6 separate regions of the Homo sapiens genome follow, and regions 2, 3, 4, 5 and 6 are each linked to region 1. The links are contacts of gene promoters, found by promoter capture Hi-C in human tissues and cell types (Jung and others, 2019). All regions are on one chromosome and are shown on one strand. Each heading gives the region's core, a stretch centred on a gene start or on the middle of the fragment in contact. The rest is flanking DNA. Distances are from core to core; before and after follow the strand shown. Region 1 holds the start of RAB36 (RAB36, member RAS oncogene family). Region 2 holds the start of SMARCB1 (SWI/SNF related BAF chromatin remodeling complex subunit B1). Region 3 holds the start of ZNF280B (zinc finger protein 280B). Region 4 holds the start of CHCHD10 (coiled-coil-helix-coiled-coil-helix domain containing 10). Region 5 holds the start of ZNF70 (zinc finger protein 70). Region 6 has its middle 12 kb from the start of LL22NC03-63E9.3.

Region 1 (2,964 bases), core at 161-2,660:
TGGGCGACAGAGTGAGACTCCATCTCAAAAAAAAAAAAAAAAAAAAAAAAAAAACAGCTAAAGGAGGAGTTCAGGGTGATCTCTAGCTCCTGCCAAATCCCCAAATCCAAATTAGTAAGTGACCCCACAGCTTAATCTTCCCTTCTCCTAAATCCCATTGGCACACTCCCTTCCCCTAATTCTCTATTTACTTCTCTGCTTCCCGCAGTGGACTCCAATTTCCCTGAGGGTGGACACCATGTCCGTTCTCTTTCCTTGTCTCCCCAGTGCTAGGCATATACCAGGAAGCTTTCAGTACATGTAGGACAAATGAATAGTTAATGGACTTGAATCAAGCTTTACAGTATAAAAGCACTTTCACCATCTCAGGTGATCCATTGAAATAGATAGTTGCGTTTATTTTATAGTTGAGTAAACTGAGGTGCGGAAGGTGGAACAACTCACCTAAGTTCACCCCCTAAGCCTCAACCTTAGCAGTGAAACTCACTAAAAGACATTAAACAGAGCCAGGTGTGGTGGCCCTTGCCTGTAGTCCCAAGGACTGGGGAGGCTGAGGCGGGAGGATTCCTTGAGCCTAGGAGTTCGAGTCCAGCCTGGACAACATAGCAAGACTCCATCTCTTTAAAAAAAAAAAAAAAAGACATCAAACACCAGCCTCCAGCACACTTAGCTTTGAATTGAAGATGACTGAGTTAGATCTGTGTACCAAGGCTTCCATATTGTGATGCAGAAAAGTTAAGGAGCTGAATTAAGTAGGTTCTCAAACTGAACCCCGGACTTCGAAGCTGGTTCCACGGTTTTATAAGGGCCACAAGAGGCCATCTAGCCCAAAACAGCTAACTTTCCAAACCGAAACTAGTTCAGAGGAAATCACTGACTCAGGTCAGCTTTTTATTAAGGAAATTAATTTTGTACCGTGAGCTCTAGAAGCCAGGCATATGATATTCAGACAGCACTGGATTCAGAACTATGCAGACTAAGGTCAGTAGATGGTAGGCAGGTCTATCTTCTGCAGCTGCAGGGTGCTTGACTCCAATTAAACATCAATACCACATCAGGAGCTCTTATGCCATAACCGCCCAACCTCTCCCAGCCGAGCTGATCACCAGAACCTGCGCGAATCTCTCCACGGTCAGCCCCACCCAGGGCTCAGGCTCCGCCCCCGGGCCTCCATAGCCCCGCCCACCGCCCACCCATCCAGCACCGCCCTTGTTGTCATGGTGATCTCCGGCTCTCCAGGGTGTCCAGGAGTCTCTCTGCTGCCAGCCCCGCCCAGACTCCAGGCAGGTTCTCGTTGCTATGGTGATCGCCGGTGCAAGCTGGATGCTTGGACGCGCCGCTGCCAGTCCAACGCAGACCCCGCCCACGACGTCGACGATTCGTGTAGCCCGCAGGTCCCGCGTGGCTCTCGTTGCCATGGTGATCGCCGCCGCTGGCTCAGGCGGACCAGGCCGCGCGGAGCCCCAGCTTTCACAGCCATCGCTGGTGAGTCAGCTCGCCCACTCTGTCCGACCCTCCCGGTCACCCAACCCCGTGCTGGCACATCCCGAGGCCAGGGCCGCGAGGGCACAGCGTCCGCGCCCACTTCCCGCCCCTATAACTTGAAAGCGGCCTGCGGCCCCGGGGCGTCCTCATTTCCGGAGCGCAAACTCTGGGCCAGGCCCGCGCTGGTTGTGGAGGAGAGCCAGGTCAGATGCGGGAAGACAACCGGACTCCGCCAGGACCACCCCAGCCCAGCCTGGAGAGGAGTCCGGACAGAAAAAGGAGACAGAGGGGCTGTTGAGGAGGCTCGAGGAGTCAGAGGCCTGGTGAAGTGAGGGTTTTCAGGGAAAAGGCCTAGTTGGCTGAAAGTTAAGGCCCCCAGGCCCACCTAGAGCCTTCGTCCTTTGCAGACTGGGAGCAGGAGACCCCTCCCCACTCTACTTCCACTGCCTGAGCTGTGCCATGCCTCACAGCCCAGTAAGGTAAGCTCAGAGGGGAGCTCCTCCTTGGTAGACACCTGTCAAGGGGAGACCCAGGTCTTCTGACTCCCAGGCAGGGTGGGGCAGGCCTGGTTCCCCCATACCATGCTGCCTGCTGTATGCAGATTGAGAGAAATGGCCTCTGCCCCATATTCCTGACAGAGAGGGAAGCCTGGATCTGGTTTTATTTATAATTCTTGAGACAAGGTCTTACTCTATCACCCAGGCTGGAGTGCAGTGGCACCTTCACGGTTCACTGCACCCTTGACCTCCCAGGCTCAAGCATTCCTCCCACCTTCCTCCCAAGTAGCTGGGACTGCAGGCACAGGCCACCATGCCCTGCTAATTTTTTTGGTTTTTTTTTGTAGAGACTGAGGTTTCACTTTGTTGCCCAGGCTGGTCTCAACCTCCTGGGCCCAAGTGATCCTCCCACCTTGGCCTCCCAAAGTGCTGGGATTACAGGCATGAGCCACTGCACCCAGCCTGGATCTGATGAAAAGTTAGGTGGAAACTCATGGGTGAATCCCCAGGTATTTGCACAGCTCCTTAACTGTCTTTCTCCTGGTTGGGTCCACAGGACTGTGGAAGAATGAGGTCCTCCCTGACACCTTTGGGGCCCCCTGTGAGCCGCGACCGTGTCATCGCCAGCTTCCCTAAGGTAGAGAGTCATTACGTCTGCAGTGCTCTCCTGGCCCTGCAGCCACATCAGCTCTCCCCACTCTACACTCATGCCTAGAAGTAAAGCAGGTGAATCAAGGAGGTCTGTCCATTGTCAGATTTACCTTGAGGAGCTGGGAGACTGGTCACTGACTGCCCAAGGTGGGACCGCAAGTTAATGGTGACACTGGGCAGCAGTGTGGCCTGGAGGTTATAAGGGCTGGGATTTTGCAGCCAGACAGTCCTTGATGTGAATCCTTCATTCTGATTCTGTCATTAAGCTGTGTGGCTGTGGGCAAATTACTCAACCTCTCAGAGCCACTGTTACATGAAGGTAATTCCTCTC
Region 2 (2,964 bases), core at 189-2,688, 640 kb after region 1:
CCAATTCCCATGGATACTGAGGGATGACTGTACTTTGGTTTCCCACCACTGTGAGGATACAGAACAAAGCAACTTCAGTCACTGCCCTTCCCAACTCTCCAGTGTCTCCTTGCCCTACCTTCCAGCCCCATGTGTGTCTTCGTAATAGCATAGTTGCATTTTTTTTTTTTTTAAGAGAGGCAGGGTCTCCCTTTGTTGCCCAGGCTGCAGTGCAGTGGTGCAATCAGCTCACTATAACCTTGAACTCCTGGGCTCAAGGGATCTTCCCCTCTCCACTTCCCAAGTAGCTGGGGCTACAGGTGCACACCGCCATGCCACACCCAGCTTATTTATTTTAGAATTTTTGTAGAGACAGGGTCTTGCTGTCTTGTCCAGTCTGGTCTCAAACTCCTGGCTTCAAGTGATCCTCCCTGCCTTGGCCTCCTAAAGAGTTGGGATTACAAGGCCGGGCGCAGTGGCTCACACCTGTAATCCCAGCACTTTGGGAGGCCGAGGGGGGCGGATCACGAGGTCAGGAGATCGAGACCATCCTGGCTAACATGGTGAAACCCTGTCTCTACTAAAAATACAAAAAATTAGCTGGGCGTGGTGGCGGGTGCCTGTAGTCCCAGCTACTTGGGAGGCTGAGGCAGGAGACTCCAGCCTCAAAAAAAAAAAAAAGAGTTGGGATTACAGGCATGAGCCGCTGAGCCCAGCCACAGCTGCAATTTCATTAGATTGAACGGTGTGAAATCATCAGTAGTGGGCCACTGTTTTACTCCCTGCATTATTCAATCATGATTGCTTTCAGACTTTCATTAGTTTCACTAGCTTCGCGCTGTAAGAGCCAAGAGGCAGAGCCACAGGGCTGGGCTGCCTGGTTTCACTCCCCACTGCAGGGCTCGGTTAAGCAGAGTGTAGGCTAAGAGAGGAATGGAGAAGGTGGAAGGTGTCTCTCCCTTCCAACGCTCATCTGATGCACCAGCCAAACCAAATACCACCTGGGCCTTTGAACATTGCCAAGCCTCATCCGCTGTTGTCATTTTGCCCACCTCCACAGCTGCAGGGACAGCCGTAGGCCCGGAACTGGGATATCTCTTCCTAGGGGCCTGCCTATCTGCTCAGCTGCACTGCGTTTTAGGGGTGGGGAAGCTAAGGCACGAGATTGGGGTCCCAAAGCATGCCCAGACCACCCAGGCTTCCAGATACTAGGTCCTCCTCCTTCAGGCCTCACTTCGTTGCTTTTCCCCTGGGCTCAGTTCCAGTCCTGGCTGTAAGACTGGGAAAGCCACTGCTTGAGTCAGGACCTCATTGGCTATTTTTGTCCGTGAGAAGTCCTCTACACCACGACTTGGGAGGCAGCCTGGGAGAAAGAGAAATTAGTCGTGGCTCCTTTAAGGGGTCCGCGGAGGCGCGCCCGGCCTTTTGTTTGAGCGGCGGCGCGCGCGTCAGCGTCAACGCCAGCGCCTGCGCACTGAGGGCGGCCTGGTCGTCGTCTGCGGCGGCGGCGGCGGCTGAGGAGCCCGGCTGAGGCGCCAGTACCCGGCCCGGTCCGCATTTCGCCTTCCGGCTTCGGTTTCCCTCGGCCCAGCACGCCCCGGCCCCGCCCCAGCCCTCCTGATCCCTCGCAGCCCGGCTCCGGCCGCCCGCCTCTGCCGCCGCAATGATGATGATGGCGCTGAGCAAGACCTTCGGGCAGAAGCCCGTGAAGTTCCAGCTGGAGGACGACGGCGAGTTCTACATGATCGGCTCCGAGGTAGCCCGGGGCGCGTTCTCGCCCTCCCCGGGCTCGGCCCCGCGGGAGCCCCGGGGCGGGCCCATGCGCCGAGAGCGCGCGTCTCCATTCATCGGGGCGGGCGGGCGCGCGCGCGCGCGCTCGGGGCTGTGGGGCGTGGCCTAGTGGGCGTGTCGGGTGTGGCCCCCGCCCCCTCATCGACCTGGGATTTCCTTACTTATTTCGCCGAGGTCCGCCGCCTTCAGTGCTGCCAAGATTTTGGCGCCGCGAGGGGCCCCAGTGGTTCCGCGCTGGGTTGGTTTCCAGTCAGACGCAAAGAAACGGGATATTGAGTTAGCCCCTGCGACGCTTGGGGGACTGCACTGCTGCCTTTGACCCTTTTTAGATGTCGTAAATTTCACGTGCACCCCTCCCCGTATTGCTACTTGTGGGAACCTCAAATGGCAGGCTGGAAACCCTGGACTTAGTGAGGGCTCATCCCCATTGTGTTTGTTGCCTCTTAGGTGAGCAGTGGAGGTCTTTTGACCTTTGTTTACCGGTGAAGAAACAGATTGGAGGAAGATGTTTGCTTTTGGGTGAATAAGGGCCCCATGCCTAAGCTAGATCTTTCAGCAGTTCTGAAGCGATTGACACTTTCCATATCTGTGAACTGATTCTGAATTATTACAGGGGAAAGAGCCTAAGGATGTTTAACCCTTAACTAGAGTGGCTGCATTTTGTTGCATCAACTGGATGACTGACTTCAGGAAAACTCTACTGGCCTTTGAATGGGTGTTTGTTCCAAGTCTATTAGGTTCTTGTTTTTTGTTTTTTATAGAGACAGGGTCTGGCTATGTTGCGCAGGCAGGTCTCCAACTCCTGGGCTCAAGCAGTCTGCCCGTCTGGGTCTCCCAAAGTGCTAGGATTACAGGCATGAGCCACCACACCCGGCCATATATTAGGTTTTTACAGATTGTCTCAAACTAGCCTTTTTTGCTCCAAAGGCAGTCCCCAGCTAGTATATGTTACCTTTTTAAAAAAATTATGGATATACAGTTCAGATGTACAAATGTCAAGCAGTAGAATCTCATGTAAGGAAGTAAGTGCCAATCCTGGAGAATTAAAGCTATCATGAAATGCCAAGAGTTTCTTCTCCTTATAGCAGTTTTTAGTATCATATTCCAGCATTTTATTCGTACTTTATTTTCTTTTATTTTTGAAAAAAGATCTCACTTTGTGCAGTGGTGTGATCTCGGCTCACTGCAGCCTTG
Region 3 (2,964 bases), core at 214-2,713, 640 kb before region 1:
CTTCAAAAACTATGAGGTAATAAATTTTTTTTTAAACTACTAAGTTTTGAGACAATTTGTTACACGGCAATAGATAACTAATACAATGGGTCTCACTGAGCTGTAATCACAAATTGCTGGGCACACAATTCACTATAATCTCACCTACTGGCATGCAATGACTTCAGATGACCTCCCCTGTCCTGCTGCATGCAGTTACCTCATGAAATACAGTCGCTGAGAAAGAGGGTAGGATAAAAGGAGTCAGCTTTATATAACTTAACATCCCTGATGCTCTTTTTTTTTTTTTCAAGAGATGTGGTAAAAGAATGCCACTACCACCCTCTCCTTTCTCAACAAAGCAATTTAGAGGGTTCCCGAATGACCTACATCAACAATTGGCCTGAACTAATCAAACACATCATTCAGATTCCCTCAGTAAAATATTGAATACCAAACAGCTATGTTTCAGCAAAGGAAAGGGCAGGGGAGCGAAACTGAAGGACGAAAATACAACTTTGGTCCTCATCAGGGAGACTTCTCTTTTCTTACCTCAGGTTTATTACAACGCAACTTTTAAGAACTTGAGCTATTCCAGGCAGAAGGTCACATCCTTGAGGTAACCAGAGAGAAGCATTAGTTACTTACATGTCACAAGAATATTTTCGATCCCACTGCCTGACATTGCCATTTAGGTGTTTATCAATCATCTCACACTTAACCAGATAAGTGAACTGAACTCCTTTCCCCCAGATCTGTTCCTCCAATCTACCCTACCTTAGCAAAGGAAAACGTCCCACCCGCCAACTGCCCAAATCAAAAGCCTGCAAATCACCCGAGGTCCTGGCTCTCACGGGAGGGACTCCATTAGGGTCCCAGGGGCTGCATTAAGAGTCCCGACAGCGACGCAGTAAATGAGACAAGACGCTGCGGTAGGGGAGAGAGACCCATACATTCAAATGCCTTAAGGGGTCTGGGCCTACAGGTCTCCAGAACTGGGGAGGGCCTGGGGTTACAAAGCAGTTTTCAGATTTTTAAATACATTGAGCGCCAAAAGAGACCCCGCGGGGGCGATGGGGGAGGGGAGCGCACTGGGAGCCAGGAAAGGCCCCTTCTCCAGGAGGCCCGGGCCCAGCCCGGGGGTGGGGGCGTCTGCGTGAGGGAGTGGAGGCTGATGTAAAAGTGGCGCCCGCTGAGATTAGGGAAGGGGGTGTGCGTGAGGGGATCGTGGGACCTGCTTCTGCCCTGCACTCCCCCACAGAAAGCGGCTGTATTGCAAAGGCCGCTCCGGCAGCGCACGGCCAAGCGCGGTGTCGCGACCCGCAGGGCTGCGGCTCGCCATGAAATCCCTCAAGTCTCCCCTCAGGGAACGCTGAAGCCGCGCCACGCCCCCGTCCTTACCAGTCCGGATCAGCTGCTGTTCGCGAGCTGCCGGCCACGCACCAGCCCCGGAGGCGCTCCCGGGGCACAGCCGGCGGCGACTACGCCTCCTCAGGCCCCCGGCGCCGCCGACGCGCACGCCTCCACACGCGCGCGTCCAGTGGAGACCTGCGATTGGCTGCCAGGTGCCGGCGCGAGATCGGCGCGGCTCCGAGCTAGGAGCATGCGCGCGCTCTGACGCCCCTGGTGGCGACGGCTGGACGCGGGGTTAAATTGAGAAGGAGGAGGGCAGCAGCAATACCCCTGAGGCCTTGAAAGGATCTTGGGTTCCGGATCACGGTTCCAGGCAGTCAGGGTTCCAGAGCTGAGGGGGTATCCAAGCAGTCAGGGTTCCAGAGCTGAGGAGCATCCAGGCAGTCAGGGTTCCAGAGCTGAGGGGCACCCAGGCAGTCAGGGTTCCAGAGCTGTCGCAGCCAGGGCTTGGGGTGGGGGGTAGGCTTCCAGTCCATCAGGGGATGGTTTGCCCACCAGAAGGCCAGCTGTTATAATTCTCAGGTGTGGTCCCTTTGTTGACTATCCATGCTTAAGGGATTGTGAGGAAACAACTGAACCTAACATCTGTCCTCTTCTAGTTACATCTGGGGCCAGTTGAATCCAGCCTGCCACCTGTTTTTGTACAGCTGGCAGCAAGCTAAGAACCGATTTCACGTTTTTTTAATGGCTAAAAAGAGAATATTTTGTGGCATGTGAAAATTATATGAAATTCAAAATTCAGTGTCCATAAATAAAGTTTTATTGGAACAACAAACATGCCCATTCCTTTCGGTATTATTTATGCCTGTTTTCCTGCTTCAACAGCAAAGTTGATTAATTGCCAGAGACCATGTATGAAAAGCTTAAAATATTTACTGTCTGGCCCTTTACAGAAAGTTTGCCCACTCAGTTTACTTGCAGCTTTGATTTTTTTTTTGAATTGACCAATTCTGCCAAAAGTCTATTTTAGCAATCTTTTTGGGGGGCGGGTAAATCGCTTTTGGTTTAATTAATCTATAATGTTATTTTCTTATCTATTTTATCTATTTCTTCCATTCTGTTATTTTCTTCCTTCGTGACTTCATAGGCTTGTTCTGTTACTTCTCATTACAACTTTTGGAGAAAAATGCCTACCTCGTTTGCTTGTAAACTTTTTTGTTTCTCTTGTATTTAATGCTATAAATTTACCTTTAAGTACCAGTTTAACTGTGTCTCACCAGTCCGCTTGGTAATATGTTCATTATCCTTCAATTAGATATGTCCTAATTTTGCTAGTTGTTAGAAATGCTTGTTCCCTGGTGCCGCAAAGAAATAGCACTTGAACATAAATTTAATTTTCTCAGCAAGGCCATTTTCACTTTCTGCAGAAAGGGTACACTCGCCAGCAGTTTTGCCACGAGAGTACCCCAAACAAAGGATACAGGGTTATTTATAACCTGACGCATCCACCCTACTGCTGTGTCCGGTTTCCATTGGCTGGAACAGGACCTCACATTCTGTGTTTGTCCCGATTGGCTAACAACTTAGAACTTTCTAAAAGAGGCAAAGGCAGAGGAGAACAAAGGAAGGAGG
Region 4 (2,964 bases), core at 214-2,713, 620 kb after region 1:
GCGGCGCAGTCTCGGCTCACTGCAACCTCCGCCTCCCGGGTTCAAGTGGTTGTCCTGCCTTGGCCTCCCAAGTAGCTGGGGCTACAGGCGCCCGCCACCATGCCCAACAAATTTTTTGTATTTTTAGTAGAGAGGGGGTTTCACTATGTTGGCCAGGCTGGTATCGAACTCCTGAACTCATGATCCACCCGCCTTGGCCTCCCAAAGTGCTGGGATTACAGGCATGAGCCACTGCGCCTGGCCTCTGCTGCCTTCTAATGGGCACTTTGGGCGGGTGCAGGAGAGGGAGGAGAAGGCTCTAGGAAAGCCCAGTACTCTGCCTGTACTCTCAGAGTATGAGCCCCACCCCCACAAGTTCTAGCACCTTCCTGGCTCAGCTACACTAATCCTCATGACCCCTGACCTAGCCACAAAGCCACATTTGGCTTACGGCGGTGGGGTTCCTAGCAGGGGAAAGGTCATCAGGGAAGTGGCTCCCCTTCGCCCTTGCGCCCAGCGGCCACAGTGCCCAGACCTGGGTGTGGGGAGAACAGGGGCTCAGGAAATCCAACATCCCTCCCCTCTGCTAGGGTGAGGTGACCTTGGGCGAGTCTCTGAGCCCTCAGGGCCTGGGTTTCCCATCTTTAAAGGGCTGGTTGGTGTCTCTCCCTGGGAGCTTAGGGACCCTGGCCTCAAGGGAGAGGCCGGGAAGCCTGCCTCTAAGTGACAGTGAACTCAAGACCAGTGGACTAGGACCCTTCCCGGGCAGAGTCCTGGGCTGAAGCAATGGTGAATACACGCGGACACTCCTCACTGGACACTTGGGCAGCTCCCTGTGTGGCCTCGAGATAATCCTGCCTCAGTTTCTCTTGGACTCGCTGCTCACCTGCTGGACAGCAGGCTGGGAGGGCTCCGAGCTCCCCCCGCTGAAGGCTCCGGTCAGGGCGCTGCCCATGACGTGTCCCACAGCCGAGCCCACGGCTACCCCTGCGGCCGTGGTCGCCATCTGAGCCATGAGCCCCGGCTGGCCCGAAGGGGCGGGGGCTGGGGCGGCTGCCGAGGGCGGTGGGTGCGCGGGCGGGTGGGCAGAGGGCGCGGCTGGGCGGCTGCGGGGGTGGGAGGAAGCAGGGTTAATCCTGGCCAGACCCCAGGCTGGAGGGCTGCAGCTCCTGGAAACGACCCCCGGAGAGATGGACGACCCACGTCTCCACACGTGGGTGCTGCACCCCCACCCCTCCCCCCGCCAAGATGGCGCAGCAGCAGCCAAGGTCACTCTGCGGACGCCCTTAGGGGAGTGCCCACACTTCCCTAACCCCCTCCCCACAGGGCCCTTGTCCCCCTCACACCTGGCTGGCCGGGAGGCCGCGCTGCGGCTTCCCCGAGGCATGGTGGCGGCGGTGGGACCCGGGCGACCTTAGAGACGGCGGCAGCGGTGCTGTCGCGGGGACAAATGCCGCAGCGCTTGTCACAGCCGGCGCAAAAAAGGCGGGGCCCCGGGCGGGGCCTCAGGAACACGCCCCCAGCGGGAGGCGGCACTGCCCCCAACCCTATCCCCCTTCTCCCGTCCTCCGGACATCTCCCTTCCAGCAGCTCCGGGTCTCGGCTGGAAATGGGACCCTGCTCCCTCCCTGCGCCTGGCAGGCTGTGCGGGTTCTGGGGACAGGGGCCAGTGTCGCAAAGCGCCGAGGGCTTAAGGAGGGCGACAGTGCCTTCTGTTAGGACCACCGCAGAGGGCAGGGAGCGGAGTTGGGGGTTGTTGCGAGCCCTGGAGGGGAGAGGAGACGGGGAGGCGACGGGATGGGGCCAGCTGGGAAGGGGACGCGAGGCTCCAGGCTGGACTCCGCTCTCTGCCCCCTCCCGGACTCGGCTGTCTGTCCCCTCCCTCCAGACAGGGTCTGCTGACCACCGCGTGGCCTGGGAGTCTCCGGTGGCCTAGGGAAGTGAAGCGCGGCCCTGGGGAAGGCCTGGAGCAACCCATCCCCAGAACTCCCACGAGGGGGCGTCCCAACCCGTCTTCGACTGTTGGCCAAAATGCGCTGCCAATGCTGGCAGCCTTACGCAGTGCCCGCGGGGGATATGAGGCCCCCCGCGCGGCCCTGAACCCCACCGGATTCCCCGGGCCGGCCCGACCGCCCCCACCTAGTCCCTGGCCCCGCGAGTGCAACCCCCGACACTAACGGCCTTTACGCGACATCCGAGCAGCGTGTCTATCCCAAAGGCCTAGGAGCATTTGCCCGGCTCGGTCAAATCTAGCGCAAGTTTGAAGCCTGCGGCCTCGCAATTTTAGCAGCTTCGTTCCAGGCCAGGTGAGCTGGAGCGCGGATTTAGAATGCTTTCCTGCTCTTCGAGAACTTGAGGTTTTAATTTTACTTTTTACTTTTTTTTTTTTGACACGGAGCCTTGCTCTGTCGCCCAGGTTGGAGTGCAGTGGCGATCTCGGCTCACTGCAACCTCCACCTCCCGGATTCAAGCAATTCTCCTGCCTCAGCCTCCTGAGTAGCTGGGACTACAGGCTCGTGCCACCACACCTGGCTAATTTTTGTATTTTTAGTAGAGACGGGGTTTCACCATGTTGGCCAAACTGGTCTCCAACTCCTGAGCTCATGATCCTCCTACCTCAGCCTCCCAAAGTGCTGGGATTACAAGCATGAGCCATCGCGCCCGGCTGAGCTTGAGGTTTTTATGGTCTTTTCTGGGTGACTTTGCAGTGGTCATATTATTACTCCTAGGTGGGGGAAGGTAGGGACTGTCCCTCATCACTGCTGTGCCTGCAGAGGACTCCTGACACCGGGATTGTCGGCAGGGTGCAACCAAGAGCAAAAGCACCCAGAAGTGGGGGTGTGGGTCACCAAGTAAGAGAGGAGGCCCCTCCATAAGGAAGGAGCAGGTCAAGGGGCAAGGGGAGTGGTGGCTGGGGCGTTTGGCCCTGCCTGGCATGCTCAATTCTGTGTGTGCACAGCTGTCCCCAGCCATGCATGCTCTCCA
Region 5 (2,964 bases), core at 274-2,773, 610 kb after region 1:
ACACCTGGCTAATTTTTGTATTTTTTGTAGAGATGGGTTTTCGCCATGTTGTGCAGACTGGTCTCGAATTTCTGAGCTCATGCGATCCACCCATTTTGGCCTCCGAAAGTGCTGGTATTATAGGCGTGAGCCCCCTCGCCCAGCCCTAAAGTATTTTCAAAAATTCTTTGATCACTTCAACTCCTCTCACCCTCCCCCTCCTCTTCAGCAACCCATAATCTCCAACTCTTCCAGCTCTCTCACTCAATTTGTGCTTTTCGACCTCATGAAATCCAAGCCATTTTTACTGTAGTTCTCCTTTTCTAGCTCCACCCCTTCTCCATCCAGCTTAGACTCTCCATACTATGCGCATCACTTCAACTCTCACGCTCTAGCACCATGCTCCTCACCTCCTCGTCCGGCTGCAACTAGCCGCTAAGTCCCAGTCTTCTCGGCCAGTTCCTCCTAAGTTGTTAAATGTTGCCAAGAAAAATCATACAACTATGTATGGCACCACGACAAATTTCGAGTTTCCGATTTCAGCTGGGACCTCAGCTCTGGCATTCTATGACCTCCTTATTGCCAATCCCTCTCTTCTCGGTCTTCACCTTCCCACCCCATCTGGCACTGCTCTCCAATACCTCCTTCTCAAAACCCTTCATTTCAGAGGTTGCAAATTGGCAGCCTGAAGATCCTGCTATGTTATGTTTGGCTCTCGAAGAGTTTGGCTTTTCCTGTTCATTTTCCTTAGTTACCAATATTTAAAACTCAGTAGGTTTCTGGCTTTCTCTTGAAAAACGAAGATGTGACAATATCCCTTCACCCGCCCACATTGCCTACCTAGGTGCATGAAAGCTTTGAGCTACCCCCCAACCCCATCCCCACCCTCGCTTTCTTCCCAATTTTCATGGCTTCCAAGTTCTCTTTCTTGATATCTTTAGATTGCAACTCTTCCTCCGCCCACCCATTAAGTCCTGGTGTTCTCAAACTTCCCTCCGTAGAGGTTTTCCATTCCCACTATATAGCCCCTACACCCTGAAGTCTCCACTCAGAAAAAAGTTGGCAACCCTTTATCTGTCTCCCACAACATGATAAGTGTTTTTGGACCGAAAATGCAAAGATCTGGAACTCCATGCTTCCCACCTCTGTCGGGGCCTTCTCCGGGTCCTCCTGCATCTGTCATCCCATCCTCCAGAGAGTCCCTAGGGCCTGGGCACCCTGCAAACTCTTAGTGCAGTCAAGGTTTCCTGGCTGGGGGCCCAAGAGTTGCCACGGACCCGCACACGCTGCCCAGGCGGCGACGTGGCGCCCCTACAGGCTTCCCCGCGATTGGGGACACGCACACCCAGGGCCACCGGAGGGACAGGTGGTCAGGCGGACTCAGGTCACACCGGCGGACGCGGGGCCACTCACCTGGGCCGGGGCGGGGCAGCTCACCTGGGCCGGGGCGGGGCCGCAGGCGGGCGGGGCGGGGCCGCACCTGAGCTGCTCCAACCCGCGGCCGACGCGGCCGACGCTGCCTGGCTCCACAGCAGCTGCTGACGCGGAGCCCGCGGCCGCCCGAGCACCCAGAGCCCCGCCCCCGGCCCGCGGGCACTTCCGGGACCACTCTAGGCCGCGCGGAGGTCCCGGCGTCTCGGTGGTCCCACCGCGCCGGTTGTCGCCGCGCGAAGCCGCCCGGGCCCCGGGACACAAGGACCCGAATCAGGAGAGTCTCTCCAGTCGGCATGGTGGCTCTGGCCGTCCCCGAAGCGCGTGCTGGACGTGGGGGAAACAGAGATGGGCAGGCGTTGGCAGGAGAGCAGAGGAGGAAACAGGTCCGGACGGGCGGGCCGACCTCGAGCCGCCGGCACTCGGGGCATCTGCGCTGGTGCTGGGTGCAAGCCAGAAGCCACTGAGGCAGCTGGGGTCTTCAGGGAAAGGAGAGTGGAGCCCCAGAGCTGTCGACCCTGTCACTGTCCACAGGCACCGGGGTCCTGTTAGGATCCCCCTCCCCCAACCTGCTTCAAGGGTAGCCCTGTTCCTGTCTGCCCTCCCCGCCCCCACAGAAATAGAGATGAGAAGGGGCAGGCGAAGAACTAGGAGTGTCTGCGAGACCATCCCAGGACCCTGAGCCCCCCAACTCTCTGCATCCCAGGGCTGACTTCGACATGAAGCGCCTCCTCTCAGGCGCACCGGGAGGGAAGAGGAATGTGTTCTTGAAATGGCCGCCCCCTTGGCCGGGCGCGGTGGCTCACGCCTTTAATCCCAGCATTTTGGGAGGCGGAGGCGGGTGGATCACGAGGTCAGGAGTTCGAGACTCAGCCAGACCAACATGGTGAAACCCTGTTTCTACTAAAAATTATCCGGGAGTGGTGACAAGCGCCTGTAATCCCAGCTACTGAGACAGGAGAATCGTTTGACCCTGAGAGGCGGAGGTTGCAGTGAGCCAAGATAGTGCCATTGCACTCCAGCCTGGGCGACAGAGCGAGACTCCATCTCAAAAAACAAAAAAAAAAAAAAGAAAAGGAATCTCCGCCCCCTCCTTGCTGCTGATGGCAAGACTGGCCCCTCCACCCAGTGTTCTGCCCATGACACCCCCCCCTCAGGTGCAGCTGCCCAGCTTGTGGGAGAGCTTCCCTCCGCAGACCTTGGCCCAATCACAGGACATCAGGAGAACACACTGTCCCTGGGAAAAAGGATTCTGCCCCAGCCGCCCACCTGCCTTCAGCACCCTCAGCCTTGGCGCTCGAGTGCCTCCAATGCTACCCACACACACCTGCCTTCCTGCCCCATTAATGCTCTGTCGGGCCTTGGGCACAGACTCCAAGGGGTAGGCAGTGGCTGCCCCTCCCCAAGCCAACAGCCTGAGCTCCATGGGGACCAGCCACCCTAGAGCCATAACCCTTGGACCATAACCAGCCATGCAGAGTTGGGGGCGGCAAGGGCTGGTTCCTTTTTCTCCCTCCGGCTCCTCAGGTCACAGGAAGGTCAGGCTACCAGTTT
Region 6 (2,964 bases), core at 346-2,845, 570 kb before region 1:
GTGAAGAAACGACTAAAATATGTGGGGAAAAAAGCCCCAGAATCTGGTGTATCCAAATAGGACTCCACTCTGATGACAGGTTTCTTGGGCTGAGATTCCTTTGAGCCCCATCCAACTTCTTCCCAGCTGCTGAGAAGAGAAAATCTTTTAGAGGCTTCCTGGAATTTTCCCAGTCCACACTGATTTTGCTTAAAAGATAAAAGTTATTATAATAAGGTCTGTTCAGCAGTATCTCAGTTTTGACTTCTCATCCCTGAGGATAAGAATGTTGCTTTTCCTTCTAGCATAGGGAGGGACAGGGTTTTTCACATGGGACTTTTGTCTTCTGCTTTTAAGAAACAGAAAACAGCAGAATGATCTTTTTGCAACTGGTGTTTTCAAGTGCCTTTTACTTAAATAGTCAATTTGCTAGACCGGTACTTTTTTATTTCTTTTCTTTTTTTTTTTATTATACTTTAAGTTTTAGGGTACATGTGCACAACATGCAGGTTAGTTACATATGTATACATGTGCCATGTTGGTGTGCTGCACCCATCAACTCGTCATTTAACACCAGGTATATCTCCTAATGCTATCCCTCCCCCCTCCCCCCACAACAGGCCCCGGTGTGTGATGTTCCCCCACTGTGTCCATGTGTTCTCATTGTTCAATTCCCACCTATGAGTGAGAACATGCGGTGTTTGGTTTTTCGTCCTTGTGACAGTTTGCTGAGAATGATGGTTTCCAGCTTCATCCATGTCCCTACAAAGGACATGAACTCATCAATTTTTATGGCTGCATAGTGTTCCATGGTGTATATGTGCCACATTTTGTTAATCCATAGACTGGTACATTTTTAACTCCATCAGAGCGCAAGCCAAAAAGCTTCCTCCTGGGCTGAAAAAAAAAGCTTCCCCCTGGGCTGAAAAAAAGCTTCATCTTGGGCTGGAAAAGCTTTTTGGCTTGCACTCTTCCTCTGGGCCTGAGCCTTCCCTGCCCTCTCATCTGCTTGGACAGAGGGCAGGGAAGACTGAAGCCCAGAACTTAATCCTAAGTGTAGCAGACCATCGGGACCCTGACAGGGTAACAGTGGGGTACTGAGTCACGGGACGAGGCCATCTGGATTCACGCACCTGAAAATCTTGATGTCCTTGAATTTTCCAAACCTGCAGAAGTGGCCCTCCCTTACTCATTGAAACCCATGTCTCCCTTCCTTTTGCCTGAAGATGATGCAGAGACCTCTGACCTGTGAGATTGTATCCACCACCACAAGTGTCCCCAGAAATCTGCCACCACCTCCTATTAAGACCAATGGACCAATAACTAGAATTGAGTCCCAAAGAAACCTGGCAAGGAATGTGATAGACCTGCTGCAGAACTAAGGAGCTCCAGAACCAGCCAACACGTGCAGTGGGCCCCAGGCGAGTGTGTATGGGGCTGGATTCTGAGGGTGTAAGATCAAAGTGCAAAACCTAAGATTGGATTGGGGAGGGTTTATCTGCTGGAAGCACTCTCCTGGGACGCAGGCTTTAACCCCCTAGCAAAGACATTGAGGCATTCCGCAAGCCCGCCGCAAGGATTGCCCTTAGGAGGACAGAGAAAGCAATGGTCCGTACCAAGCAAGGTCATAATGCCAGATGTGCTGTGGCAGATGGTGGGAGAGGAATCAAAAGGTCCTGGGAGGCCAGGTGTGGTGGCTTATGCCTGTAATCCCGGCACCTTGGGAGGCCACTGTGGGAGAATGGCTTGAGGCTAGGAGATCAAGACCAGCCTGGGCAATATAGTGAGACCCTGTCTGTACAAAAGATTAAAAAAAATTAGTCAGGCATGGTGGCACACTCCTGTAGTCCCAGCTACTAGGGAGTCTGAGGTAGGAGGATTGCTTCAGCCTGGGGAGTTTAAGACTGTAGCCAGCTGTTCCAGCCTGGGCGACAGAGTGAGACCCTGAAAAAAAGAAAGAGAGAGAGAGAGAGAAAGAAAGAGAGAGATGGAGAGAAAGAAAGGAAGGAAGGGGAAGGGAAGGGAGGAAGGGAAGGAAGGAGAGAAAGAAAAAAGAAAAGAAAGAAAGAGAGAGGGAGAAAGAAAGGAAGGAAGGGAGAGAGAGAGGGAAAGAAGGAAAGAAAAGAAAAGAAAGAAAGAGAGAGAGAGAGAGAAGGGTTCTGAGAGTGCTTAGCTGGAAAGGCAATACCAGGTACTCATGGACATCTCCCCAAGTGAGAGAATTCTCAGGAGGGCCTGGGGACTGCAGTCTGTAATTGATTGATAAGCGGTGCACTGGTGAGAGAAATCCAGCATCCTTGAGAAACTCAGTGGGTAGTTCTCTAGACCAGGCCAGCAGGGGAAGCTGGTAAGGAAGTTGATAGCAATACGGATGGAAGGACCATGCAGTGATAGTGTCACATTGTCAGGGCTTAAGCATAGGAGCCAGGTGTGTGGCAAAAGATGAAGTGGCAGCAAGGCACCTGACATTGAATGATGGAGTCAGTCAGTATAGCATGGCACCTCTCGGGGCAAGATGCATAAGCCACCAAGAAAGGGACAGCTTCTAATCTTTTTAGCTTATTTTTTATTTTTTTGTTGAGATGGGGGGGTCTCACTAGGTTATCCAGAGTAGTCTCGAACTCCTGGCCTCAAGTGATCCTCCTGCCTCAGCCTCCCAAATTGCTGGGATTACAGGTATGAGCCATAGCTTCCGGCCTAGCTTTTAATCTATATTTTCAGAGGGAAGTAAGGAAGAAGGGTCAAACCCCATTAACAAGTTTCTGAAAGAGCCTAACTTGCAATGTCTAGTCATTCCAGAGTAGGATATTTACCCCAAGGATTAATTCACTGTAGTTGCTGTGATAAATGACCAAACCATAAACTGAGTGACTAAAAACAAAGACCTCTAAATGATTACACCTGGTATCTTTGGAGGAGCCATTCAATCTACTATACGCTGCTTCCAAGTCCTTGTAGAAAAACATACGGAAATCATGCATCATC

Evidence for each region. The method cuts DNA at HindIII sites, captures the fragments that hold promoters and counts their contacts. A contact is called where the count stands out against the background at its distance.
Region 2: a contact is called between the fragment with the promoter of SMARCB1 here and the fragment with the promoter of RAB36 in region 1, in 6 of the 25 tissues and cell types used here (H1 embryonic stem cells, dorsolateral prefrontal cortex, heart left ventricle and 3 more).
Region 3: a contact is called between the fragment with the promoter of ZNF280B here and the fragment with the promoter of RAB36 in region 1, in 5 of the 25 tissues and cell types used here (H1 embryonic stem cells, dorsolateral prefrontal cortex, heart left ventricle and 2 more).
Region 4: a contact is called between the fragment with the promoter of CHCHD10 here and the fragment with the promoter of RAB36 in region 1, in 2 of the 25 tissues and cell types used here (adrenal gland and dorsolateral prefrontal cortex).
Region 5: the fragment with the promoter of ZNF70 here is called in contact with the fragment with the promoter of RAB36 in region 1 in 4 of the 25 tissues and cell types used here (dorsolateral prefrontal cortex, lymphoblastoid cells, spleen and 1 more).
Region 6: a fragment that was not itself captured here is called in contact with the fragment with the promoter of RAB36 in region 1 in 3 of the 25 tissues and cell types used here (H1 embryonic stem cells, dorsolateral prefrontal cortex and lymphoblastoid cells).

Annotation. Positions count from the first base shown.
Region 1 is chr22:23,144,067-23,147,030 of GRCh38, forward strand. It overlaps RAB36 (RAB36, member RAS oncogene family), which reads left to right and starts at 1,411. Exons shown (of 11, transcript NM_004914.5): 1 at 1,411-1,485; 2 at 2,539-2,619. The coding sequence starts at 2,551. It also overlaps a transcript of RSPH14 not described here. RefSeq lists a silencer at 1,164-1,233. The HindIII fragment of the contact is 15,551 bases long and covers 1-2,964 here.
Region 2 is chr22:23,785,528-23,788,491 of GRCh38, forward strand. SMARCB1 (SWI/SNF related BAF chromatin remodeling complex subunit B1) reads left to right here and starts at 1,439. Exons shown (of 9, transcript NM_003073.5): 1 at 1,439-1,735. The coding sequence starts at 1,643. The HindIII fragment of the contact is 20,978 bases long and covers 1-2,964 here.
Region 3 is chr22:22,507,279-22,510,242 of GRCh38, forward strand. It overlaps ZNF280B (zinc finger protein 280B), which reads right to left and starts at 1,464. Exons shown (of 4, transcript NM_080764.4): 1 at 1,381-1,464; 2 at 532-592. It also overlaps IGL. The HindIII fragment of the contact is 18,670 bases long and covers 1-2,964 here.
Region 4 is chr22:23,766,509-23,769,472 of GRCh38, forward strand. It overlaps CHCHD10 (coiled-coil-helix-coiled-coil-helix domain containing 10), which reads right to left and starts at 1,464. Exons shown (of 4, transcript NM_213720.3): 1 at 1,326-1,464; 2 at 866-1,085. The coding sequence starts at 1,366. It overlaps LOC107985577 (a long non-coding RNA gene), which reads left to right and starts at 1,718. Exons shown (of 3, transcript XR_007068022.1): 1 at 1,718-2,285. RefSeq lists an enhancer at 1-601. The HindIII fragment of the contact is 13,382 bases long and covers 1-2,964 here.
Region 5 is chr22:23,749,589-23,752,552 of GRCh38, forward strand. ZNF70 (zinc finger protein 70) reads right to left here and starts at 1,524. Exons shown (of 2, transcript NM_021916.4): 1 at 1,123-1,524. RefSeq lists a silencer at 1,240-1,689 and enhancers at 1,282-1,957, 1,840-1,899, 2,740-2,799. The HindIII fragment of the contact is 11,413 bases long and covers 1-2,964 here.
Region 6 is chr22:22,569,972-22,572,935 of GRCh38, forward strand. It overlaps IGL. Among named protein-coding and RNA genes, the nearest start is that of LL22NC03-63E9.3, 12 kb to the left of the region's middle. The HindIII fragment of the contact is 4,847 bases long and covers 1-2,964 here.